Linked DNA regions of Homo sapiens: region 2 is linked to region 1. The links are contacts of gene promoters, found by promoter capture Hi-C in blood cells and fetal thymus (Javierre and others, 2016). All regions are on one chromosome and are shown on one strand. Each heading gives the region's core, a stretch centred on a gene start or on the middle of the fragment in contact. The rest is flanking DNA. Distances are from core to core; before and after follow the strand shown. Region 1 holds the start of SPPL2C (signal peptide peptidase like 2C). Region 2 overlaps LINC02210-CRHR1 (LINC02210-CRHR1 readthrough).

The links. Contacts are between HindIII fragments. The CHiCAGO score rates a contact against its expected background, and 5 or more counts as called.
Region 2: a contact is called between a fragment that was not itself captured here and the fragment with the promoter of SPPL2C in region 1, in 5 of 17 cell types (megakaryocytes, M0 macrophages, endothelial precursors and 2 more). The highest score is 7.4, in megakaryocytes.

What each region holds. Positions count from the first base shown.
Region 1 is chr17:45,841,295-45,849,188 of GRCh38, forward strand. SPPL2C (signal peptide peptidase like 2C) reads left to right here and starts at 3,587. Exons shown (of 1, transcript NM_175882.3): 1 at 3,587-5,773. The coding sequence starts at 3,613. The coding sequence ends at 5,667. It overlaps MAPT-AS1 (MAPT antisense RNA 1), which reads right to left. Exons shown (of 2, transcript NR_024559.1): 2 at 2,062-2,867. RefSeq lists enhancers at 3,509-4,493, 4,494-5,477. The HindIII fragment of the contact is 7,159 bases long and covers 550-7,708 here.
Region 2 is chr17:45,680,461-45,688,354 of GRCh38, forward strand. The region is part of intron 3 of LINC02210-CRHR1 (LINC02210-CRHR1 readthrough); the gene reads left to right. Among named protein-coding and RNA genes, the nearest start is that of LINC02210-CRHR1, 64 kb to the left of the region's middle. The HindIII fragment of the contact is 2,621 bases long and covers 1,692-4,312 here.

The sequences.
Region 1 (7,894 bases), core at 2,337-4,836:
TCCTCATTCTCCCCTCCCCCAGCCCCTGCCCGCCACGAATCTGCTCTCTGCCTCTGTAGATCTGCCTGTTTTGGCTGTTTCACGTAAGTGGAATTAATCGTACAATATGTGTCCTTTTGTGTCTGGCGTCTTCATTTAGCATAATGTGTTTCCACTTAGCATAATGTGTTTCGGCTTAGCATAATGTTTTCAAGGTCCATCCACATGGTAGCAGGTATCAAAACGTCATTCCTTCTTATGGCTGAATGCTATTCCCTTGTGTGGAGAGACCGCAGTTTCTCCATTCATCAGTGGATGGACATATGGGTTCTCTCCACCTATTCCAAGTTATCATGAATAGTCCTGCTATGAGCATGCATGTACACGCTTTTGTTTGAAGGCCTGATTTCAATTCTTTGGGATATATAGCTGGGAGTATAAGTGCTGGGTCATATGATAACTCTGCTTAACTTATCTAGGAACCACCAAGCTGTTTCCTGCAGCGGCTGCACAATTTTCCATTCCCACCAGCAGTGTATGAGGGTCCCAACTTCCCTATATCCTCGACAAAGCTTGTGATTGTCTGGGTTTTGTGACAAAGTGGGTGTGCTGGTTCTTGTTTTTTAAAAGATCCACGACTCCCTGCGTGGAGAACAGGGCCTGGAGTGAGGGTCTAGGTTGCCCATTCGTTGCTGGGGGGCCAGAAAGGGTTTTACTGTCACAGCCCTCCTGTGGCCTACAGGCGAGCCTCCCTCTCCTAACCACCCTCCTGCCAACCTCCCCTTTGAAATGGGAGCACTCGGAAGGGACAGCTGGCAGCCTCCTCCCCTGGGCTCTGCCTGCTTCTCCTCACACCGGCTGGTGGTTTGTTTGCCAGTCACTTGTATTTGTTCCTGAACATGTTTCTGACAGTTCACTTGTCATTGTAATTACTGTCGTAATCTAACTAAATGTTATATTACTGATGAATCAGAAGTGCACTAACAAGGAGAGATGTTTCTTATGAAAATTCAGTCTAATGCTTTGAAGGATACTTTACAAATGAGTCACCAAAAATATTGGCAAATTAGGTGTGGGTGAGATGAGTGTAAATAACTGGGTGAGAGAGAATTGTCAGAATCTCAGATGGGTTCCACTTGCTGACCACTTCACATGGCCCTTTAAACTCACCCTCCACTTCAAAGAATCCACAGCTGATGTTGGAGATGATGTTTCATCCCTGTGGATTTCCCAAGGAAAGCAGTTTGGGACTGCAAGAGATGGACCCGTAATAGAAGGAGAGGCCTTGACAGGCACGGTGGCTCACGCCTGTAATCCCAGCACTTTGGGGGACCAAGGTGGCTGGATCACCTGAGGCCAGGAGTTTGAGACCAGCCTGGCTAACATGGTGAAACCCCATGTCTACTAAAAATACAAAAATTAGCCAGGTATGGTGGTGGGCGCCTATAATCTCAGCTACTTGGGAGGCTGAGGCAGGAGAATCGCTTGAACTTGGGAGGTGGAGGTTGCAGTGAGCCAAGATTGTGCCACTGCACTCCAGCCTGCCTAGGGGACAGAGTGAGACTCCATCTCAAAGAGAAAAGAAGGAGAGTCCTTGAGAAAGATCAGTGATTGGCCAGGCACAGTGGCTTGTGCCTGTAATCTCAGCACCTCGGGAGGCTGAGGTGGGCGATTCACTTAAGGCCAGGAGTTCGAGACCAGCCTGGGCAAAATGGTGAGACACCATCTGTACTAAAATCACAAAAATTAGCTGGGCATGGTGGCACACACCTGTAATCCCAGCTACTCGGGAGGCTGGGTCGGGGGAGAATTGCTTGAAACCAGGAGGTGGAGTTTGCAGTGAGCTGAGATCGTGCCACTGCACTCCAGCCGAGCAACAGAGCAAGACCCTGTCTCAAAAAAAAAAAAAAAAAAAAATCAGCATGCTTACTCCTTAGAGGTTAAAATTACATGTGTGTTGTGGGGCTGCCCACAATTGTGCCCCCAAATAGGCATGTTGAAGTCCTAAACCCCAGTACCTGTTAATGCGACCTTATTTGGAAGTAGGGTGTTTGCAGACATAATCAAGTTAAGATGGTGTCATTAGGGTGGGCCCTAATCCATTATAACTATGTCTTTATAAAGAAGAGAAGAGACACAGAGACACACAGGGAGAATGCCATGTGACAACCTATGCAGAGACTGGAGTGACAGGCCAGGCCAGTGGGGAGAACATGAGGACAATGGAACCTGGACTGCCAAGCTCCAGCCCCCAAATCCCTCCCTTCTGGTTCCGGAGGCCCCAGGGTTACTCTCCCGCACACTAACTGCTTTGAAAACCTCATTCCTCAAATCTACTCCATCATGGGTGGCCTGAAGAAGCCTGGACAGGAGGTCCTGGGTGACCTGTGAGGGCATACACCACAGAGCTGGGTGCAAACCTGCAGAGCCAAAACCTGGGGCTCCTGGCTTCAAATCCACCTCTCACCAGTATTTGAGTTCTCTTTCCAGCGGAAAGTCTGCCCGGCCTCAGAGTTGCAGCCAGGAGAGTGGCTCAGAATCCAGCATGAAAACATTTGGAAGACATCAAGGTCCATTTAACCAGCACAAGAGCCCCAGCCTTCTTTGCTGTGTCAATGTGGGCTTCTCCAAGCCTCAGTTTTACTTATCCATGAAGTGGGTGTATTAAGGTAACGTTAAGTGGCTATAACAAAGAGACTCATGACAAATCAATGCCTTAAGGAAGATCATGTCTCTCTCTTGTAACAGTCCATAGTGCACATCCTGGGCTACTGTTCCACATGGAATCCAGGGACCTGGTTCCCTTCACTTTCTTCCTCTCCATTCCTTAGGACATTGTCCTCCTCGTCATAGACAGACACATCACAGGCCCGTCCTTGTTCTGACTCCTGAGAAAGGGAAAGAGAGGGTAAACCAGGAGCCCCACGGTCTGTCAGCCTAAGCCCCTGATGTAAAGAGTTCACATCATTTTTGCTTAATTTCTCCTGGTCACCTGTCCGTTCCCAACTGTAAATGGAGTTGGAGGTGAATTCTGGTCATGTGCCTGGTAGAAATGGGGACCAACTTTGAGGGACAGCCTCAGGCTGTGCAGATATAATGACACCTCCTTGCAACTGTGCAATAGGTACAGCTAGGGTACCTGGCGCCTAGTAAGCCCTCGGTAAAAGTGCTCAATGTTACTGAGCTCAGAGCTCCAAGGGACCTTAGAAACTCTCTGGCCCAACGTCCTCATTTCTTTACAGCTAAAGAAACAGGCCTAGAGAGGAGTGACATTGGCCTGTGTTCCCCATGGGTAAGGAGAAAAGTTGGTTCAGAATCCTATCTGGCCTGCAAACCCCATGCTCACACCTTTTATTTCAAAGTACCTGGTCTAAACCCACTAGGGTCTGGGCAGAGAGCAGGGTCCATATGACCTCTCCCCTGGTCTCCCAGGGTTGGGGGGCATCATTCTAGAGGGACCCTGTGCCCCACAGCAGCGCCCTCGGCTGGGGACCACACAGCTTTATGACTAGGTAGGTGTGGCCCTGGTTTCCAGGACAGGTGGCCAGACTGCTCTGTGACAAAGGGCCACGCCTGCCCCTGGGAGGGGTATTGGGCTGCCGCCCGCAGATGTTGCAGTAGGAACTGAAGAAGATGGCGTGCCTGGGCTTCCTCCTCCCCGTGGGCTTCCTCCTCCTCATCAGCACCGTGGCCGGGGGAAAGTACGGCGTGGCCCACGTGGTGTCGGAGAATTGGAGCAAGGACTACTGTATCCTGTTCAGCTCCGACTACATCACCCTCCCCCGGGACCTGCACCACGCCCCACTCCTGCCCCTGTATGATGGCACCAAGGCACCCTGGTGCCCGGGTGAGGATTCCCCCCACCAGGCCCAGCTCCGCTCCCCCAGCCAGCGGCCCCTCCGCCAGACCACTGCCATGGTCATGAGGGGTAACTGCAGCTTCCACACGAAAGGCTGGCTGGCTCAGGGCCAAGGTGCCCACGGGCTGCTCATCGTGAGCCGGGTCAGTGACCAACAGTGCTCAGACACCACCCTGGCACCCCAGGATCCCCGCCAGCCCCTGGCAGACCTCACCATCCCTGTGGCTATGCTCCACTATGCTGACATGCTGGACATCCTCAGCCACACTCGTGGGGAGGCCGTCGTCCGCGTGGCCATGTACGCACCCCCAGAGCCCATCATCGACTACAACATGCTGGTCATCTTCATCCTGGCTGTGGGCACAGTGGCTGCAGGCGGCTACTGGGCCGGCCTGACCGAAGCCAACCGGCTACAGCGGCGCCGTGCCCGAAGAGGAGGGGGGTCTGGTGGTCACCATCAGCTGCAGGAAGCTGCAGCAGCTGAGGGAGCCCAGAAGGAAGATAATGAGGACATCCCAGTGGACTTCACGCCGGCCATGACAGGCGTGGTGGTCACCCTGTCCTGCTCGCTCATGCTGCTGCTCTACTTCTTCTATGACCACTTTGTCTATGTCACCATTGGGATCTTTGGCCTGGGTGCTGGCATTGGCCTCTACAGCTGCCTGTCACCCCTGGTGTGCCGCCTGTCCCTGCGGCAATACCAGAGGCCTCCGCACAGCCTCTGGGCCTCTCTGCCGCTGCCTCTGCTGCTGCTGGCGAGCCTGTGCGCAACCGTGATCATCTTCTGGGTGGCCTACCGCAATGAGGACCGCTGGGCGTGGCTCCTGCAGGACACACTGGGCATTTCCTACTGCCTGTTCGTCCTGCACCGTGTGCGGCTGCCCACTCTCAAGAACTGCTCCTCCTTCCTGCTGGCCCTGCTGGCCTTTGATGTCTTCTTTGTCTTCGTCACCCCCTTCTTCACCAAAACCGGTGAGAGCATCATGGCGCAGGTTGCCTTGGGCCCTGCAGAGTCTTCAAGCCATGAGAGGCTGCCCATGGTACTCAAAGTGCCCCGGCTAAGAGTCTCCGCCTTGACCCTGTGCAGCCAGCCCTTCTCCATCCTTGGCTTCGGTGACATTGTGGTCCCCGGCTTCCTGGTTGCTTACTGTTGCCGCTTTGATGTGCAAGTCTGCTCCCGTCAGATCTACTTCGTGGCCTGCACCGTGGCCTATGCTGTGGGCCTGCTGGTCACATTCATGGCCATGGTCCTCATGCAGATGGGCCAACCTGCCTTGCTCTACCTAGTGTCCAGCACCCTGCTCACCAGCCTGGCTGTGGCTGCCTGCCGCCAAGAGCTCAGCCTCTTCTGGACTGGCCAGGGCAGAGCTAAGATGTGTGGGCTCGGCTGTGCCCCTTCAGCTGGCTCTAGGCAGAAGCAGGAGGGCGCAGCAGATGCCCACACAGCCAGCACACTTGAGAGAGGCACCAGCCGAGGAGCAGGGGACTTAGACAGCAACCCTGGAGAAGACACCACTGAGATTGTCACCATATCTGAGAATGAAGCCACCAATCCAGAGGACCGCAGTGATAGCTCCGAGGGCTGGAGTGACGCCCACTTGGATCCTAATGAGCTGCCCTTCATCCCCCCTGGGGCCTCGGAGGAGCTGATGCCACTGATGCCAATGGCCATGCTGATCCCACTCATGCCCCTGATGCCCCCGCCCTCAGAGCTGGGCCATGTCCATGCCCAGGCCCAGGCCCACGAGACTGGCCTGCCCTGGGCGGGACTCCACAAGAGGAAGGGTTTGAAAGTAAGAAAGAGCATGTCGACCCAGGCTCCCTTGTGAACTGGAGGCACTGGGACACACGCCTCTCAAAGGGCTGGTGGAACATTGCAGAGCAAAGCCATGCATGGCAACAAGAAATCAGGGTATCAAAGAGATTTCATATCTACCCAAGGAGTCTCTCTGTTTGTCGGGAGTGCAAGAGAGCAGCAACCACATAATAAGAGTGTGCAGGGCTCGAAGGGTCCTTAGGAGTGGGCACCACCCCCAAATAATGAAGGGGGGAAACTGAGGCTCCAAGAGGGCCTATGACTTGCACAAGTTCAAGCGGCAAGGTCGGGATTTGCATCCAGGGCTCACTGGGCAGCTACTCCCCTCTGCCTGCTTGCCCAACCCCTTCCCAATCCAGAGTGGCAGCTTCTTAGCCTGGCACACAGCCCCCATCCCATCCCTGCCACCCACCCTAGGCTCATTGCCCATCTTCTCTCCATGCTCAGGTCAAACAGAACTCCTTGTCCTCCCCACCCGCTCTCTCTGCATATGCTGTTCCCTCCAGCTGGGATGCCCTTCCCTCTCCAGACAGAAACACTCCAGCCTGGCTCCCTGACTCACTAGAAGATTCCGAAGCATCCTTTACTCCTCAGCTCACATCCATTCTGCAAAACGTCTCTGTTCAAGAATCCCAGGCAGCAGCACCAAGCCCAGCAAGTTCCTGTATGCACCACCCATTCCATCTTCAGGCATTGAGTATGCCCCTACTATGTGCATCGCCATGTGGTGGGCACAGGGAAGGCCTCTGTCTAGCTGGGGGAGGGGGAGGGGTGGGCAGACAAGAAACAAACTTAGAATTGTCTCAAAGAGGTCGGGAGGGGTTGGAGAGGTTGGGCCCAGGGTGGAAGAATTCCGGAGACCAAGGCCTCCCTCACTGACTCTAAGTAATGTTCAAGCCTCGTTGGGTCTCTGTAGTCTCATCTGCAAAATGAGACTTATAATACCATTTCCATCTGGAGGCAGGGGCATGGACGAGATGACCTCCTAAGGACTCTACAGGCTTTTAGGCCATGTAGGGTGCTGATGTGTTGCTTAATCAGAGCAGACAAACTCTGGGGTGAGAAGGCTTCCTGGAGGAGGTGTTTTTGGAGGGGAGGAAAGTGTATCCCAAGAGGCGGTGTGGTTCAGTGGTTAGGGTTCTACAGCCAGGCTGCCTACCACAAATCCCAGCCCTACCACTGACTTGGAGTATCTCACTGAGCAAATGACTTATCCATTCAGTGCCTCTGTTTTCTTGTGTGTGAAATGGGATAATAGGACCTACCATCTGGTTCTTAGGAAGTTTGAACGAGTTGGCCTATGTCAGGTGATTGGCACAATGCCCTGCCTGTCCGAAGAGCCCCCTGCACGTGAGCTATGTTTATATTGCTCCCCTAGTGAAAGCCTCACAGACTCAAACCCAGCTCCTACAAGACCTTGAGGTCCCAGCCCAACGGCCCTCTTCCACCCCTCCAAACCCCTACCGCCACAAGCACACGCCAGACCCACCACACCCCCCATGCTTTTTCCTCTTCTTGGAACTCTCTTTCTGCCCCTTCCTTACCACGCCCCGTGAACTTGGCCTGGCTGGCTGCTCCTCTTCGCAGCCTTTCCTAAAGCATCCCTGTCTCAATCACACGACCAGGCACCTTTAGTTTTCCGATCTTCCCCGGTAGAGGGCCAGCTTTGGAAGGGCAGGGGCCTTGCCCATCTTGTTCATCTGTGTAATTTCAGGGCTCAGAACAGCCCCTGGAGTGTTACAGGTGCTTGATGTATTTGCTGGAGGAATGAACGGATGGATGAATGAATGAATGAATGAATGAGGAGTTGACCAGCCTGAACTGCAGAGGAGGGAATGCTATGAGGGAAGGCCCCACTGCCCAGGCCACCTCACAGGCTTCCTGCAGGACCTTGGTCAGTGTTGACGTGAGACTTGGCAGGCCTGGCTGGGCCCTGGAGTGGGGAGAGAGTCCCAGGGAGGCAGTGCAGGTGGTGGGCCTCTCAAAGCCCCGCTTGCCAGGGAAGAAGTGCAGCCTCTCGGTACACAGCAGCTGAAGGCCCGCTAGACAAGGGAAGCTTGGAGAACCCGGCCAGGCCACTGCGGAGGTGTTGGCAGCCCCTCCCACCGGAGCAGTGGCCATCTGGCCTGGACAGAGGGCCCTCCGCAGGCCCTGGCTCAGCCCCAGCCTGGGCAGCCTCCCTGCTGCTGGCCTGCGTCACGGGGCCTGCCGAGGGCAGCTGCACCCTCTGCCAGGCCCGA
Region 2 (7,894 bases), core at 1,752-4,251, 160 kb before region 1:
TCACAGACATGTGTGCCCAGGTCTGTTTGCAATGACACCAACATCACCCCTGCCCTTGGCCTTGCCCCTCTCTTCACCTCCGTCCTGATTCCTGCTCTGTAGCCACACAGATGCCAACAGCTGGCACTTGTCCAAGAAACATGTGCTCAAGGTCAGGTGCAGTGGCTCATGCCTGTAATCCTAGGTTTTTGGGAAGCTGAGGAGGGAGGATTGCTTGAGGCCAGGAGTTCAAGACCAGCCTGGGCAACATGGGGGTCCTTGTCTCTACTAAAAAAAAAAAAAAAAAAAAAAAAGCTGCACATAGTGCCATGCCTATGGTCCCGGCTACTTGGGAGGCTGAGGCAGGAGGATTGCTTGACTTAAAGAGATTGAGGCTACTATGAACCATAATCATGCCACTACACTTCAGCCCGGGTAACAGAGCGAGACCCTGTCTCAAAAAAAAAAAAAAAAAAAAAACAGAAAAAGAAACGTGCTTGGGGTAATGCATGTTGACTCCATCTTGTCACCCAGAGCTCAGCAGGAGGCACCTTCCTGGGAGAGTCAGATCAGGAGTGCACAGGGCTGGACACAAGCACCTGGGGCAGCCTCGGGAAGCTACTGCTCAGCGGCATCAGAAGATCCTGCCCCTCTCCCGGGGCCTGGGGCATTGCACTTGGCATCTGAAGCCCTTCCTCCACACCCCCTTCTGCAGGTGGGGGCAGAGCCCACTCTGGGATGCCTCCCTCTCCACAGCTCCATGCTTTGATGGGACACTCCCCTGCCACCTCTCTCCCAACCACAGCTTCTACCATAGCCATGGCCAACAGCCTCCATTAGCCTGTGCTTGCAGGACAGTCGAGGGGCTGCCTGGAGCCTCCTGCAACTCCACCCTCATCCTGCTCCACCCTCTCCCTGAAGAACCTCCACAGGCTCTTTGGTCCTGTTTGTGAGGAACCTGGCCCCTCATCCTGCTATTCAGGGCCCTCCAAGCTCTTTCCTGGGCCCTACACCGCACCATCCCTTTTCACAGCAGCCTCTTCCTAAGTGGTTTGAATTTTGGGTCCCCAGGCCTCCTCAAACTGAAACCCCATCTGTAGACACCCTGACTCCCCTCCACCCACCTCCCACACTAGAAGTAGAGGAAAGGCAGATGGATGGGGTGTCTGCCCAGCCTGAGGGGCAAGGTGTGGGGACAGGCAGGGAGGGCAGGCCCCAGGATGGACAGATGGACAAGGCATCTGGCTCTCCCTTTTCCTGAATGGCCATGGGAGGAATGAGGTTGCCACCCCATGCCTCTCACAGAGATGCTGTGAGTGTGAATGAGAACAGCTTGTGAGGGGTTCTGACAGGCATAGCCTGGTGCGGAGACCTTTTGTAACCTTCCGGACCTGGCATTGAACCAGAGGACGGATCATGTGACCCATGTTGCTCGGCCCTTTTAGCCTTCCCGGCTCATGGCTCACATCCCAAATACCCTCACGCTCTGCAGGCGCTCTTAACCTGGGGAGGGGTATGGATTTGTTTGAGGGTAGGAGATGCATTGCCTGTCTTAAATCTACAGCTGTATGCACAAATACTTTTTTATTTTTTTCTGGAGTGTTTGCCGCTTTTCAAAGGCTTTGCGAACCATAAAATGGTCTAACTAACTTGGTACCAGCTTTCCAGTCTAGGCCCACCTGGATGTTTACTCCCAGCAAATCTGGTTTCCAAGCTTAAGGGCTGTCAGCATCCATCCTGATGAAGCACTCGCCTCTTCACTTTGAAATTCTAACACCTAACCTGCTTCAGGGAGATCTGAGATCAGATCGGCACAGTGGGTACATCCTCTATCCTTCTCCTCCTAGGCTGACCTCAGTTTCCCTGCATCCAAATGGATCAGTGTCGGGTTACAGCTACACTCCAGGCTACTGACAATGTTCCCAGTGACAGGTAAATCTCCATCCCATGCAAACATCTTGCATCTGAGCAGCCCCTTTCCAAAGATGTTTTCTTTTGTTTCAAACACGAGGGCTTCTGCCTTGTGCAGGAGTTTTAGTGTGTTTCCCAGAACAGAACTCAGCCTCCTAACCTTAAGTATAAATAGGGTTGTTCACAAGCTAATGACTCTGATCATGGCAAGATGACTTCTATCTTGATCTCACCTAAATTCCTCCTCAATCCGTCTTTAACCTGAGGTCTGAAAGCTGACCACAGCATGTTCACAAAAGCTAAGCAGCAAAGAGAAATGGCTTCCCCAAAGACTGTCCTATCCCAGTACAACTTTGTCTTCTTCTTATTATTATTTTAGATGGAGTCTCGCTCTGTCACCCAGGCTGGAGTGCAGTGGCGCAATCTCAGCTCATTGCAACCTCCTCCTCCCGGGTTCAAGTAATTCTCCTGTCTCAGCCTCCCGAGTAGCTGGGATTACAGGTACCCACCACCACGCCCTGCTAATTTTTTGTATTTTTAGTAGAGACGGGGTTTCACCATGTTGGCCACACTGGTCTCGAACTCCTGACCTTGCGATGTGCCCGCCTCGGCCTCCCAAAGTGCTGGGATTACAGGCATGAGCCACTGCACCCAGCCATTTTTTTTTCACATATAATAAGTTCCTGAAAATGTCTAAGAATATAAATGTATCAAAGTTAGATAATAATCTTACACTATGCAAGAAGGAGGAGAGCCTGGCGGTTAAGAATGTGGACAGTGACCTACCTACACGGGCATAAATCTGCCACTTCCTAGGTGTGTGGCTGAGACCTCTCTGTGCCTCAGTTTTCTGAAAGACGGAATGATTATAGAAACCACCTTATAGGGTTCTTGTGCAAATTAAGTAATATATATATAAAGCGCTCAGAACAGGGTCGTATGCACTGAATATGTTAATAATTATTATTTTATGTTTTAAGGTGGATTCTATACTCAGCTAAAAATAATGACAACTCCCTAATTATATTTTGCTTCTAAGAACATTGATCACTTATAATTTATTTCTAAGGCCTTATTTTCTGGCTGAGTGCAGTAGCTCAAGCCTGTAATCTCAGCACTTTGGGAGGCTGAGGTGGGAGGATTGCTTGAGCCCAGAAGTTTGAGACCAGCCTGGGCAAAATAGTGAGACCGCCATCTCTACAAAAAAAAAAAGTAAAAAGTTAGCCAGGTGTGGTGGCACAAGCCTGTAAGTCCCAGCTACTTGGGAGGCTGAGGTAGAAGATCACTGGAACCCAGGAGGTCAAGGCTGCGTAGGCCATGATCATGTCACATCACTCCAGCCTGGGTGACAGTGAGACCCTAAAAAAGAACAACTATTTTACCCCTCACACATGAATCCAGTCAACCAACTTGAGTTAAATGAACACTGGGCTAAAATGAAAACAACTTTCATTTTTTATTTTTATTTTTAATTAATTAATTAATTAATTTTTTGAGACAGTCTTGCTGTATTGGCCAGGCTGGAGTGCAGTGGCACGATCTCAGCTCACTGCAGCCTCTGCCTCTCAGGTTCAAGAGAATCTCCTGCCTCGGCCTCCCAAGTAACTGAGGCCACAGGTGTGCCACCATGCCCAGTTAATTTTTGCATTTTTTAGTAAAAGCCAAATTTTGCCATGTTGGCCCGGCTGGTCTCAAAACTCCTGACCTGAGGTGATCCTCCCGCCTCAGCATCCCAAAGTGCTGGGATTACAGGCATGAGCCACTGTGCCTGGCCTCATTTTAATTTTAATTATATTAACTTTTTGAGACCCTTTCTTGTTTATTACCTAGTACCTATACTTTAAATTTTCCATTTTTGCTCATTTTTACTATCAATAAACACAACAACATATTCAAACAATTGCATCAACAGGCTATACAATATGAGCCAAGTGGAATAGAGATACTTCAAAAATGGGGCTGCTGGCTGGTAGTTTATGTCACCTCATGACATCCCAACATATTTGCCAGTGGATGTGAAAAAGTCCAGATTTGGTGAAGAAAAATCAATTTAGGAATGTCAAAGTCCAAACCTATAACAGTGGTGATGGTTCAAAAGCCAAAAATCCTTGAGGCTGGGACGTATGTCTGGGTTCATGTCAATGATCTTGTTGGAAGAGCAATTTGTTACCATGAAGTAGGAGACAGATAGTCTTCACTTTGATAACAGACCCATTCCAAGAGAGCTGGCTATAAAGAAACTATTCATAGTGTGAGTCACATTTTTTTAAAAATTCCATTATAAAACTAAGACGGTCTTCTAAAGGAAAATGGAGAGCTTTGAAAAGTTTTGGTGGATAGGGCCAGGTCTTTGTCATGCTGGGATTATGGTGAGAGAGATTTGAAAGCACTTTTAGTAATTGCTGTTCCTTCCTGTAGCTGAAGCTTCAAGGGGAGCTTCTTTTCTTTTTTCTTTTTTTTTTAAACACAAGTTTCCACTTTTATTAGTTTTATATAATGATGCACCAAGGTTCGTCTTGGGCCTCAGAATTTAGCTAATGTATGTGTTTTCTTTTCTTTCTTTTTTTTTAAATTTTATTATTATTATACTTTAAGTTCTAGGGTACATGTGCACAACGTGCAGGTTTGTTACACATGTATACATGTGCCACGTTGGTGTGCTGCACCCATTAACTCGTCATTTAGCATTAGGTATATCTCCTAATGCTATCCCTCCCCACTCCCCCTACCCCACAACAGTCCCCGGTGTGTGATGTTCCCCTTCCTGGTCCGTGTGTTCTCATTGTTCAATTCCCACCTGTGAGTGAGAACATGCGGTGTTTGGTTTTTTTGTCCTTACGATAGTTTGCCGAGAATGATGGTTTCCAGCTTCTGGAAATACGGTGAAATTTACGGCAGACTGCCTAAGTTTACAAGGAGCAACAGATACTCCAGGCTACCTCCTCAGTGTGGCCTGATCCCTCCCCCTTTTATTCTCCTAGAGAGTGTCTCACATTATAGCTGATAACACTCACTAATGTCTCCATTTCTTTTTTCTTTTCTTTTCGTTTTTTGAAGACAGGTTTGTTTTGTTGCCTAGGCTGGAGTGCAATGGTGCAGTCATGGCTTATTGCAGCTGTAATCTCACAGACTCAAATGATCCTCTAGCCTCAGTCTCCCAAGTACTTGGGACTGCAGGCATGAGCCACCAGGCCCAGCTAATTTATTTTTATTTTCATTTTTGTGGAGACAGGGTCCCTCTATGTTGTCCAGGTTGGTCTCCATCTCCTGGGATCAAGCAGTCCTCCTGCTTTGGCCTCCCAAAGTGTTAGGATTACAGGCGTGAGCCCCCGCACCTGGCCTTCAGTTCTTTTTCACCACATTTCATTGTGTCCTTTTGCGATTGGGGTTTAGATAGCTAGAGGTGGAGTTCTTTACTTTCCTGACAGTTAGGGTTTATGCAGTCTTGGTATGCTCCCTTCTTTGATGGCTACATTCTGGAAGCTGGGGAAGACGCGTGTAAGCCTGAGCAGTATGTCTGGCACCGAAACATCAAGAGAGCCCTGATGCCACCCGAGGCCTTCACATGTTGACGAGATGGCTATGTATACACAAGGGCTCCTGCGGCGGGCGGAGTGGGGGATGCCATCACCAGATAGAACTTCATAAGACAAAACATCAAATTCCTTCCTTCCCCTCTCTTAGTAATGGTCCGCCCTATTTAATCCTGGGATGTGAGTTCTTTTGGTGATGGGGGTTTGCTGAATTGATAGGGAATGGTGCCAGTGGTTATGTCCGAGTGGCATTGAACCATAGAAACATTTCTGAATGTTTCTTCTATTTCTATCCCCTAATCTTTTCATGCCACTAGGCATGTGAGGCCAACATGGCCTTCTAAGCTTCTACAGTCAGCCTGGCTGCCACTGTCCCTGCATGATTTTGGCGACTCTAAGGAAGTCCCAGAGACCAAGGAGAGTCCAGTCTTGTGGTCCTGGCCAGAACTGAAATTTCACCATTGACTTTGTCATCGTGCTGTGTGCTTCTCCAAACCACAAGGGTTCCTCCTGCTTCCGGGGGCCTCAGCTCTATCCTTGCAGCTCTCGTGAGCCTCAAGTTCTCATGCAGTTTTCAGATTAGGTGGTTCCAGGAACTCACACCTATCTCCTTTCTCCTGTGCCATTGTCAGAGATGACAGCAGATCATGTTCCACAGTGGGAATGGCCAGTTAACATATGCAACACTTCCCTTTGAAAGCACCTTAAGTGGAGAATTCTAGAAAATAAACCAGGCTGGGCATGATGGCTCATGCCTATAATCCCAGCACTTTGGGAGGCCGAGGTGAGAGGCTGCCGAGGTGAGAGGCTCACGAGGTCAGGAGTTTGAGACCAGCCTGACCAACATGGTGAAACCCTGTCTCTACTAAGAATACAAAAATTAGCTGGGCATGGCGGCACACACCTGAAATCCCAGCTACTCAGGAGGCTGAGGCCGGAGAATTGCTAGAACCCGGGAGGCGAAAGTTGCAGTGAGCTGAGATCATACCACTGCACTCCAGTCTGGGTGACAGCAAGACTCCATCTCAAAAAAAAAAAAAAAAAAAAAAAAGAGAGAAAAAAACTTGCCCACTTTCATCAATCTTGGAAGCTCAGACCTTAGTAAAATTTATTTATTTCAAAGAAGGTGCAATAAAATTGTTCAAGCCCACTTGGAAATCCATTGTAAGAGGTGCTGGCATTTTGAAAAATCATTTTGCTGATTGCGAGAGTAATACATGCTCATTGCAAATAATTAAGAAAATACAAAAAGGTACATAGAAATAAAATCTCCCAAGATGTTACCTCTCAGAAATAACCATTATTAGCATTTAATATGCCACTCCTTTTTCTGTGCACAGCAATTTATAAAATTACATGGTACTTTATCTACAATTTTTCATCTTGCTTTTTTCACCTTAAACAACCAGAACATTCTTCCATGTCATCGTCTACTCTTCAAAAACACCGTTTTAATGACTACATAATATTTCATTGTCTGGTTGTACCAGGATTTATTTAGCCAGTTCTCTATTTGCAGGCTTCTAGGAGGTTTCTTATTTTTCATGATTATAAATGATGCTGCAGTGAATATTCTTGTCCAGGAAATCTTTATCTGGGTTTCTGATAATTTCCTTAGAAGAGATTCCAAGAAGGGAAATTGTGGAGTCTCAATTCTGCTGGGTGTTACCTGTCTCCTATGGATGCTCAGAAAGGCGGAGTGGCTCCTGTTACCCTGAGTGGGTAGCATTTCCTGCCGCTAAGGCCTCCTAAAGGCCTAGACCACACAATTTTTATTCCTGCTGGGGAGAGATGGAAAAGGGGCCCCTGAGCCTCCCCAGACAGATCCCAACTACTCACCTGAACCTGCTCCGTACAAAGCAGAGCATCCCCCTGCAGGACTCATTTCATAATTAACTTAGAGACTAAAGCATATTTAATTAACCATGGAAACCCTCCCAGCCATCTGCCTCTGTTTTTATTTTGAGGAAAATGGCAGATTTTTTTTTTTTTCCTTAACTCCCTCTTTTTGGGGATGGAGCTCATTTCCAGCATCTTGGTTCTTGTATAGAGCTGGGTCCTCTCCCCTGCTGATGGCCACTCCAGAGTGTCAGAGTCAGGGGTTAGCTTGAGGTGGGAGGCTGGGTGAGAGGTTGCACAAGGGCCTGGGCTTGGCCTCTAAGGCCAAGTCCCTGCCTGGGGTGAGCTCAGCCAGGCAAAGGTGGCACCCATGCACTACAGTGTGGACCTTCAAGGACCTAGCCTCAGACTCTTGGCTGCTGTCCTAAACTTACAGGGCTGCAGAGAGGGGCAGAGCTCAGAGAAAGAAGCCAACACTCTCATTCCACAGGTGAGGAAACTGAGGCCCAGACAGGCTCCAGGTCAAGCCTGAGCACAGAGATTTTCAGGCCCCTTGTTTGCTTCTTTGTTGTAGCCTCAAAGGAGTGGGGACGGCTTTGATTTCACTGCACTCCAAGGTCAGGGGATTTAAA